Linked DNA regions of Homo sapiens: regions 2 and 3 are each linked to region 1. Evidence: promoter capture Hi-C in 16 types of primary human blood cells and fetal thymus (Javierre and others, 2016). All regions are on one chromosome and are shown on one strand. The core of a region is centred on a gene start or on the middle of the fragment in contact, and the rest is flanking DNA. Distances in the headings are between cores, read along the strand shown. Region 1 holds the start of OR52W1 (olfactory receptor family 52 subfamily W member 1). Region 2 has its middle 24 kb from the start of OR56B4. Region 3 overlaps LOC124902622 (a long non-coding RNA gene).

The links. The method cuts DNA at HindIII sites, captures the fragments that hold promoters and counts their contacts. A CHiCAGO score of 5 or more calls a contact.
Region 2: a contact is called between a fragment that was not itself captured here and the fragment with the promoter of OR52W1 in region 1, in 4 of 17 cell types (monocytes, neutrophils, M1 macrophages and 1 more). The highest score is 7.8, in monocytes.
Region 3: a fragment that was not itself captured here is called in contact with the fragment with the promoter of OR52W1 in region 1 in 2 of 17 cell types (neutrophils and monocytes); the score reaches 7.5 in neutrophils.

The regions. Positions count from the first base shown.
Region 1 is chr11:6,197,840-6,201,077 of GRCh38, reverse strand. It overlaps OR52W1 (olfactory receptor family 52 subfamily W member 1), which reads right to left and starts at 1,854. Exons shown (of 1, transcript NM_001005178.1): 1 at 892-1,854. The coding sequence starts at 1,854. The coding sequence ends at 892. RefSeq lists enhancers at 1,039-1,539, 1,540-2,040. The HindIII fragment of the contact is 17,873 bases long and covers 1-2,869 here.
Region 2 is chr11:6,130,372-6,133,339 of GRCh38, reverse strand. No RefSeq gene overlaps it. Among named protein-coding and RNA genes, the nearest start is that of OR56B4, 24 kb to the right of the region's middle. The HindIII fragment of the contact is 5,709 bases long and covers 1-2,968 here.
Region 3 is chr11:6,108,967-6,111,794 of GRCh38, reverse strand. LOC124902622 (a long non-coding RNA gene) reads left to right here. Exons shown (of 3, transcript XR_007062565.1): 2 at 1,447-1,531. Among named protein-coding and RNA genes, the nearest start is that of OR56B4, 2.7 kb to the right of the region's middle. The HindIII fragment of the contact is 4,061 bases long and covers 1-2,828 here.

The DNA of each region.
Region 1 (3,238 bases), core at 605-3,104:
GCACTAACATCATGTGCTTCTAATGATGTTGGCCAAGACAAATGGGGGTGCCTATGGGGATTTTATCTGGGGATTATACCTTCTTGTTGAGGGTGCACAGAAGGGCAGATTGACAAGAAACCATAGTAATTCAGCCTCAGGCAATCAGATGATGTGGCTGCAGTGATTTTCTGGGATATCAACATTTCTTTCAGTGGACCCCTGACCTCTGCAGCTGCAGTCACAGGGGAAGAAGTTACAGCTGTTAATTTTGGGGGCTTTGGTGGGAGTTGGGGGAAGGAAGAATAGTAATTACACATGAGACCAAAAGAGGATTCTTTGAATTTGAAGTGGCCAAATTGGTACCACAGGGCACATTATTTAGTTTATCGGAAGGCAGGAGATGAGCCTGTAGAACTCGTTTCCTGAGGGCAGTCTGAAAACAGAATCTGGCTCCAGGAGTAGAGAGGGCTGTGATTTCAGACGGGTGCCCAAGCACTTGACTCCAGGGACAGCGCCACCCTCTGCGGCAGTGCCAAGCACTTCCCTCAAGTTTGGGATCTATAGAGGAGCTTTTGTGTGGAAACGTGGGCAGACTTAGGTTGAAATAATGGAGGTGGGGAGCAGGAAAGGGAGTTGTTAGATCTTGTTTATTATGGTCCTTCACTAATTTTTCCTGCATGGTAGTGTAGCCCCCTGACCTCTACCTCCTGCCTCCTCCCAAGCAGAATACATGTTTAAGTCAAAGTCTACAGATGCCAGTGTTGCACATAGGGACTCCACAGCAAGTACCTGTTAAATGATGATAACAGTCATATGCAGTGGGATGAAAATAACATGATCCACACCCCCAGACTCCCCTCCGATTGTCCCCTCACCTCCACTCTTAGGCTCCATTGTTACCACTGGACATTACAACGGGCTTTTTCTGAATGTGAAGGTTTCCAGGAGTCGGTCTCTGATCTGCTTGGTGCGGGCCCCATAGATGAGGGGGTTGAGGGCAGGTGGCAGCAGCAAGTAGATGTTGGAGAGAAGGATGTGCACAGGCTTTGGGACAGTGTGATGACCAAAGCGGTGTGTGAGGTAGGAGAAGAGACCAGGTATGTAGAAGGCCAGAATGACACAGATGTGAGAACTACATGTACCAAAGGCCTTGGCATGGGCCTCCCGGGTAGGTAGCTGCAGCACAGCATGGGCAATGAGTCCATAGGAGCCAGTGATACCCAGAATATCCATACCTGAGATGGCCAGTGAAAGTGCCAGACCATATAAGTTGGTGGCCTGTGTGTTACCCACCACCAGTTCTACCACTGCCATGTGTGCACAATAGGTATGGCCTATGGTCTTGGCTTGGAAGTGCTCAAACTTTGCCACCAGCAGTGGGAAAGGTACAACAATAGCCACAGCTTTCAGTGCCAGGGCCAAGGCTGCATAACCCACACAGGCTTTGGTGACCAGGACAGGGTAGTGCAGTGGACGCCCTATTGCCGCAGCACGATCACAGGCCATGGCCAAAAGCACACCTGATTCCATGGCAGTCAGTGCATGTACAAAGAACATCTGGACCAGGCACACAGCATATGGCACAGATCGGGGCCCAAGCCACAGCACAGCCAGCAACCCTGGGGCTATAGATGTGGCTAAGCCCAGGTCTGTGGCTGCCAGGATGGCCAACAGTAGAAACATGGGCTGGTGCAGTGTGGAGTCTATCCACACCACTGCCGGCAGTGCTCCATTGCCCAGCAGGGCCAGCAGATAAATGGGCCCAAAGACCAGTGTCAGCCAAGTCTGGGCACTTCCTAGCCCTGGAAAGCCAGTCAGTATGAAGAAGTTTGGGTGTAGGAAGGTGGAATTGAGTTGTAGAGTTTCTGCCATTCTGTGGTGGGCACAACTTGAGGGCTCATGGGGGCATGACTCCTGACAGGGAAGATAAGGGGAGAGATTTTGGGGGTCTCACAGTGGCACAAACCCATCCATGGCATACGTGTAGGAGTAGTGCAGGGCTGGGAGGATCACAGGTTTATAACTTTTGGTTAGGGGGGTTTGGATGGATAATTAAGGTCGCAATTCTAGCTAAGATAGGAGAATCCTTTGCTCCTAAAAGTCTATATGTATTGTAGTGGGAGGAAGGGGTAGTGAGGAAGAGGCTGCCTGCTGCAGTGGTTGGTATAGATAGCCTGAGAGAGCCTTCTAATTGGATGTCAGCAGAGGGTGGAGTGGAGATGAATACTTTTCTTCCTCAGGGTCCAAATAGAGTCAGTCTCAGTCTCTATATGAGGAGAAAGCCAGTGCTGGGGGCAGGGTGGGGAATCAGGCTTCCGGCTGTCCTGTCCCTGCCTGTGTATCCTTGGGCAAGATCTCTGGACCTCAGCTTCTTCAGCTGTATAGGCCTGGTGGGTACAGTGATATTAAGGTTTGCCCAGCTCTGAGCAATTGCCCATTCTCAGCACCAACCATCCAGGAAGAGAGGAGGCAGAGTATAAAGAAAGGGAGAAACCGTAGTGGGAGGCAGATGGAATCTGGAGTGAATCTGGGAGCTTGGTGTGGCAAGGGAAAACTTGCTGGGTTTTTGGGGTGCAGGGTGCTTACGTTCTGAACTTGATGCTGAACACCAGCTGGAGAGTTGAAGTTGGGGCTGGGAAGCAACAGAGAGAGAGATGGCAGTACGAAACGGGACTTTTCTTCTCCGTTTCCTTTCCTTCTTCACGGTACAAAAGTGGGTCCCACTAGAGTCTCATTCCTGGCATGCCAGAGCGAGTGGAGGTGACATAGAGGGAGAAAATGGCACTCAACTCAGAGTAGCAGCCATCTGAGGAAGAAGCATCTCTGACATTGGAGGAGGCAGGACAAGTAGATTGACTTAGGTGGGATCCAGCCCACCTAAGAAGCTTAATACATGTTGAATGGATAAATGAATGAGGAAGAAATCACCAGCAGAAGGCTTGACTGGGAAAGATCTCGAGCACTGTGTGTTGGCAGCTTCTCTTCGCTTTAATCAGTGCCTGTGGGGCTCTTTATGTGGCTGTTCTACCTGCTTCCCTCAGGGCCTTTCTCCCTCCCACCTGTGCCACATTAACTCTGTTTTGTATCTCTTTGCTCAGTGCTGATGGGCTGGTGACTCAGGAAGTAGAGTAAGGAGGCAGAGATGGGGGCAAGCCAGGAAAGAGACTATCAGGTGGAAAGATCTGGGCAAGGAACACTTTCTCAGGGAGGTCTTTGCTGGCTCACTGAAGTCCGGGAGAAAATTCCTTGGTTTATT
Region 2 (2,968 bases), core at 214-2,713, 67 kb after region 1:
TGAACTCACAATTCCACATAATTGGGGAGGCCTCACAATCATGGCAGAAGATGAAGGAAGAGTAAAAGCATGTCTTACATGATGACAGGCAAGAGAGCTTGTGCAGGGGAACTCCCATTTATAAAACCATTAGATCTTGTGAGACTTATTCACTACCAGGAGAACAGGATAGGAGAAACCGCCCCCATGATTCAGTTATTTCCACCTGGCCCTGCCCTTGACATGTGGGGATTGTTACAACTCAAGGTGAGCTTTGGGTGGGGACACAGCCAAACCATGTCAGTCACAATAGTAGTAGTAGTAATCTTCCTAGCGTGCTGTATACTCTCAAAAATCTTAATAGCTACATGCAGCCATCTGCTGAATGCTAAATGGTCTCTCTCTGCCTGGCATGACAAACTCCAGAAGATGCATGATAACAAGGACACTGTAATCTATGAATAACATGATGAGACTGAAAACTCAAAACAATGGTGATGGAGAGTGGCACTGATGCTCTAACCTAGGTGAGAGCATGACCCAAAGCGGGGGGAATGGTTAAACAAAGTTTATGGGATACTATTGTTTTGGACTAGCCTTCTATACTAGGCCCCAGCAGACCAGCTCAAATCAGAATGGAGTCACTTGTGCTAGGTGCCAGGTAATCAAACCAAACTTTGAAATGGGCCAGTTTTCCATCAAATAACAGAAATTTCAGTCAACCTGAGTCAGCATAATATGGAATTCTCCTCTGTTTTAATTCCATCAGGAAAGAAACTTTGAAATGTCCAACCTGCTTTTTGTTCTCTGTTTCTACTTTCTTCAGCTCTTTTATGGCTAAAAAGCCAACCTCCTCTGCTGAGCTAATCAGAACCCCTCATTATATTTTATACAATGAGGTGTTACCTGATTCTAGAATAATAAATCAAAGCCAATTGTATTTTTAACCTAAATTCATTGTAATTTTGTCTTTTGACACTGCATTCAGTCAGTATTTCTAGTGGATGAAATTGAACATAAGCAAATGTAAAATTCAGTTAGGCTTAAATTGTTTACTAATATATCAATAGTGTTGTTAACTAACATATGTGTGTGTTCAAAATAAAAGAACAGATGTGATTGTATTCCCTCTCCTATATTAACAGTCTTTTCCTCTCTCCTGAATCATGCTCCTTAGTATACAAAGATTCCAAGGACTGCCAGTTTCAAAAAATACCTCAATTCCATATACATCTTAGGTCTTTCGATGGCACTTCTTAGTCTCTCTCCTGTATCCCTAAGGTCTACTTTTCACTGACCCAACCTCTTGTAAGAGACATTCTTGTATATTGCCTTCACTTCTTTATCTTTAAAATCTATGGCCATCCATATAAAATCTGTCCTATCACTGTGTTGAAACTGCCCTTTCTTTTTTTCTCTTTCTTTCTTTCTTCTTTTTCTTTTTCTTTCTTTCTTTTCTTTTTCTTTCTTTCTTTCTTTTTCTTTCTTTCTTTTCTTTTTCTTTCTTTCTTTCTTTCTTTCCTTCCTTCTTTCTTTTTCTTTCCTTCTTTCTTTCTTTGAGTCTTGCTCTTTTGCCCAGGCTGGAGGAGTAAAGTGGCACGATCTCGGCTCAGTGCAACCTCCACCTCCCGGGTTCAAGCCATTCTCCTGCCTTACCCTCCAGAGTAGCTGGGATTACAGGTGCCTGCCACCACACCCGGCTAATTTTTGTATTTTTGGTAGACACGGGGTTTCACCATGTTGGCTAGGCTGGTCTTGAACTGACCTCGGGTAATCCACCTGCCTCGGCCTCCCAAAGTGCTAGGATTACAGGCGTGTGCCACCGCGCCCAGCAAAACTGCTCTTTCTAATGACTTGCATACTCCCAAATTGAATGAGCAGAATGTTAGTCTTATTACAAAACAGATAACCCAGTTGTTTTTATTTTTTATTTTTATTTTATTTTATTTTATTTTTTTTGAGATGGAGTCTCCCTCTGTCGCCTGGACTGGAGTGCAGTGGCACGATCTCAGCTCACTGCAACCTCCTCCCCCTGGGTCAAGCAATTCTCCTGCCTCAGCTTCCCTAGTAGCTGGGATTACAGGCATGCATTACCACACCCAGCTTATTTTTGTATTTTTAGTAGAGACAGGAGTTTCGCCATGTTGGCCAGGATGGTCTTGAACTCCTGACCTCAGGGAATCTGCCTGCTTCGGGCTCCCAAAGTGCTGGGGTTACAGGATTGAGCCACTGCACCTAGCCAACCCATTCCAATTTGAATACTTTGAGGAGGGCATACTTATAATGAGACATTTATAAGGATGTGGTCAGGTAAAGATCCTTAGTGATACAGTGCAGTTACTTTCTCTTCTTGATATGTGGGGTCACTGTTAAAAACAGGTGAAAGCACAGGGTCCAATTCTGCTTTGTCCAAAGATACCATAATGCCTTGCTATCGCTATCTGACTCTATCAAAGGGAAGATGATTTAAGTGCCTGAGTTGTGATGGCTTAAGGTTCTCACACATGGACTTTCAAATTTACTGGCACAAGTTAGGCTTCTCTTCACAAAGTCTGCCATAATGCCTTGTGACTGGGTCAGGATAGACTTCCAACCTCATCCTGCAGCCAATATTTCACCCTTGCTGAGCTACATACTCTAGCATTTAAATAAATAAGAAACAATTTTACTAACTTTCTCTTCTCTCTGTCTCCAAACATATATCATTTTTCTTATGAGGAAAGTTCCTCTTTAGAGACCTTTGGTGTCCTTTATACTGTCATTGAACTACAAGACTTCATTGAGATTTCTTTTTTTGTTTTTTTTTTTGTGTTTTTTTGAGACAGAGTCTCACTCTCACCCAGGCTGGAGTGCAGTGGTGTGATCCCAGCTCATTGCAACCTCCGCCTCCTGGGTTCAAGCAATTCTCCTGCCTCAGCCTCCCGAGTAGGTGGGACTACAGGCATGCGCCACCATGCCCAGTTAATTTTGCATATTTAGTAGAGACAGG
Region 3 (2,828 bases), core at 306-2,805, 89 kb after region 1:
GACAGCTGGATTCTGACAGGGAGCATCCTCCAGGGAGCAACCAGGGAGCAAATTTTCCAGGAGACACAAGTGGATGCTGAATGGCTTTTTTTGGACTTCTGTCACATTCTCTTGGTTAAAAGTGAATCAGTGAGGCTCAGATTCAAGGAGAAGGGGAACTAAGTTCAATTTCTTGATACGGAATTGTTAATGTTTCACTGCAAAAGAGCATGTGAGGTGGGAGCTATTATTATGCTTGTCTTTGGAATGTGCCATATTCAGTGAGATGTTCAACAGAGAATAAAAGAGACATAAAAATGATAAAGTTCTTATCTTGAGCTTGGAATTGGAATGAGAAAATACTGCATAACTATTATGTAATTTGGGCATATTAATAAAAAAGTATAAGTTTGAATGTGTTAATAAAGTTATGCATACAACAACCTGTCAAATAGATATATTTAATAAAATGTGCAGATCAATGAAATGGGGATGTGGGGAGATGTGTGAAAGAGATCAGTTCAGCAAAAGTCAGGAGTAGGAGAAATCTGCCAGAAAACATAATAAAAATAAATAAGATGACAGGGTGAAACAAAACAAAATCATAGGAATTATAACAAATATGAATGGACTTAGTTCCCCTATTTAAAGGGAAAGTTCCTCAAATATGGTTAAAAATAAAGATCAAACTAACGGTGTTTCCAAAAGACAGACTAAAGTTAAAATATCAAAGGAATATGGAAAGAAGTGAATGAGAGAAGACAAACAGGCAAATATAGTATGACAGTATTAAAATCATATAAAGCAAAGCATATGGGCAAATATGAAATACATGACAAACATAAATAATTCATAAAAATAAAACAATGCACAATCTTTTTTTATCCTCATGGCACATATAGAGGAGAGAATAATTAATTGCATAAATCTTCCTGACTCCAAGATGAATGTTAGGTGTTTATTTATTTTCAGAAGAACTGAGACACATGTCCACAGAAGTTGTTGAGAGTGGCCTACAATTTGGGCTGCTGTGCATAGACTCATGCTATGTATTTTTGAATGAATGAATAAATAAACAAATAAATAAATAAAGGTATGTATGAATGAAAGTTTAAAGGCAGCTTTGAGGATGGCACACTATTGCCATCTACCAGAGACAGCTAAACTGCCTGAGCCTCAGTACTGCCACTTCCCAGTGGGTGAATTTATATAATTACCCAAACTTAGCCCCTATTTCTTTGTAGAAAAGAATTAATAGTAATCCTTTAACAGCTTCCTAATTAAGAGGACTGCTATGAAAATTATGTGAAATTACTCAATCCACTGTGGGAAAGTATTTTGCAAACTGTGAAGAACTCTGCAGGATTAGATGTTATTACTCTGATCCTTCAGGGTAACAAACCATGGGAGGTTGAGTTAAGTTAAAATCCTTTCTGTAATTGTCTCTCTCTTGCCTCCTCTTATTAGATGATCAGTTGCTTCCATTTGAATCACTGTCAAGAAAGAATGAAGCAGCCAATTCTTTTGGAGGAAGTTGATAGTCTCTTTTTGGGTAAGTTTCCAAGCATAACTCTTAAGAAGTCCTGTCCCGCACACAGATGACTTCCCCCTGCAGCTCTGTTATGCTGCCCAGCATGCATTACTCTGGTGAGATGAGCTGATGGTTTCTGATGTTGCTTTAGTCCTTGTGCTATTTCCTAAGAAGTTGTTTTCCAAGGTGGACTCATGTGCAAACTTCCTGAGGTCATTATTCAGACCATGGTCCAGGTATTTTCTTTGATACACATAATTCAACAGATCTATAATGCTCCCTGATTATATAATGAATTAAGCACCTACTGTGTGCAATGTTCTGACTGAGGCTCATTGAAAGTACACATGAATGGTTCTTGTACTCAAAAAGTGTGCAATTTTTTTAGGTGAGCAAACAGCAAAAATTCAGTTAGCTTTAATTAACAGGTTATTTGAAACTATTTTTATAGGGCATTTTCTAGGATCCATTTTCTTCCTTTCCTAGCAAGAAAACTGCCACATAGTTAGATTTATATTTCCATGTGTATATCTTATTTCAAAGCATGTATTCTTTATCTCTTTTGATTGTCACAGCATGTTTGCGATTTGGCTCAGCAAAATGTTATGATTTTTGTCACTTTTAATCAGAAGAATTGAAACATAGGGAGGTTTCATAAGTTGTTCAAGTTCACACAGAAATTTTGGAACAGAGCAAGACTGAGAGTAAGAATAGTGCTATGGTTTTTCAATCAGACTTCCCAGGACTTGAATCCCAGCTCTCCCACTTAGAAACTGTGCTGTCAGGGGGCAAGTTCTATAATTTCCAGTGCCTGAGTTTTCTTAGCTGGAAATTGGGAATAATATTGTACCTGCCCAAAGGGTTATTGTGAGAATTGAGTCAGATAATCTACATACATATTTTATCAAAGTTTCTGGCCTACAAGAAGTATTTAACACTTGTTAACCATTAATTCATTAATTATTGAGATTTTTTTGGGTACGAAAATTAAACTTTACTCCTTTTTAATAAACATTTATTGTTTACTTTTTATTATAAAAATTACATATGAAAAGCACATAAATATGTAAGAGTTAAATATGTGTAAATATTAAAGGCTTTGTTTTCTATTATTAGTCATATTATAATGATTTTTATGAATAACTTTTTGACTGCATTTAGACTATTTCTTTTGGATATTTTTCTAAAATAGAATTACTGGTTAAGAACATTTAAACATTTATAAACATTTTGATAAATTTTACCAAATTGCTTTTTGGTGTGTTTATAGTCCTACCAGTTGTGTAGGAAAGTGTTAATCTCGGGGTAGGCTAGCAGT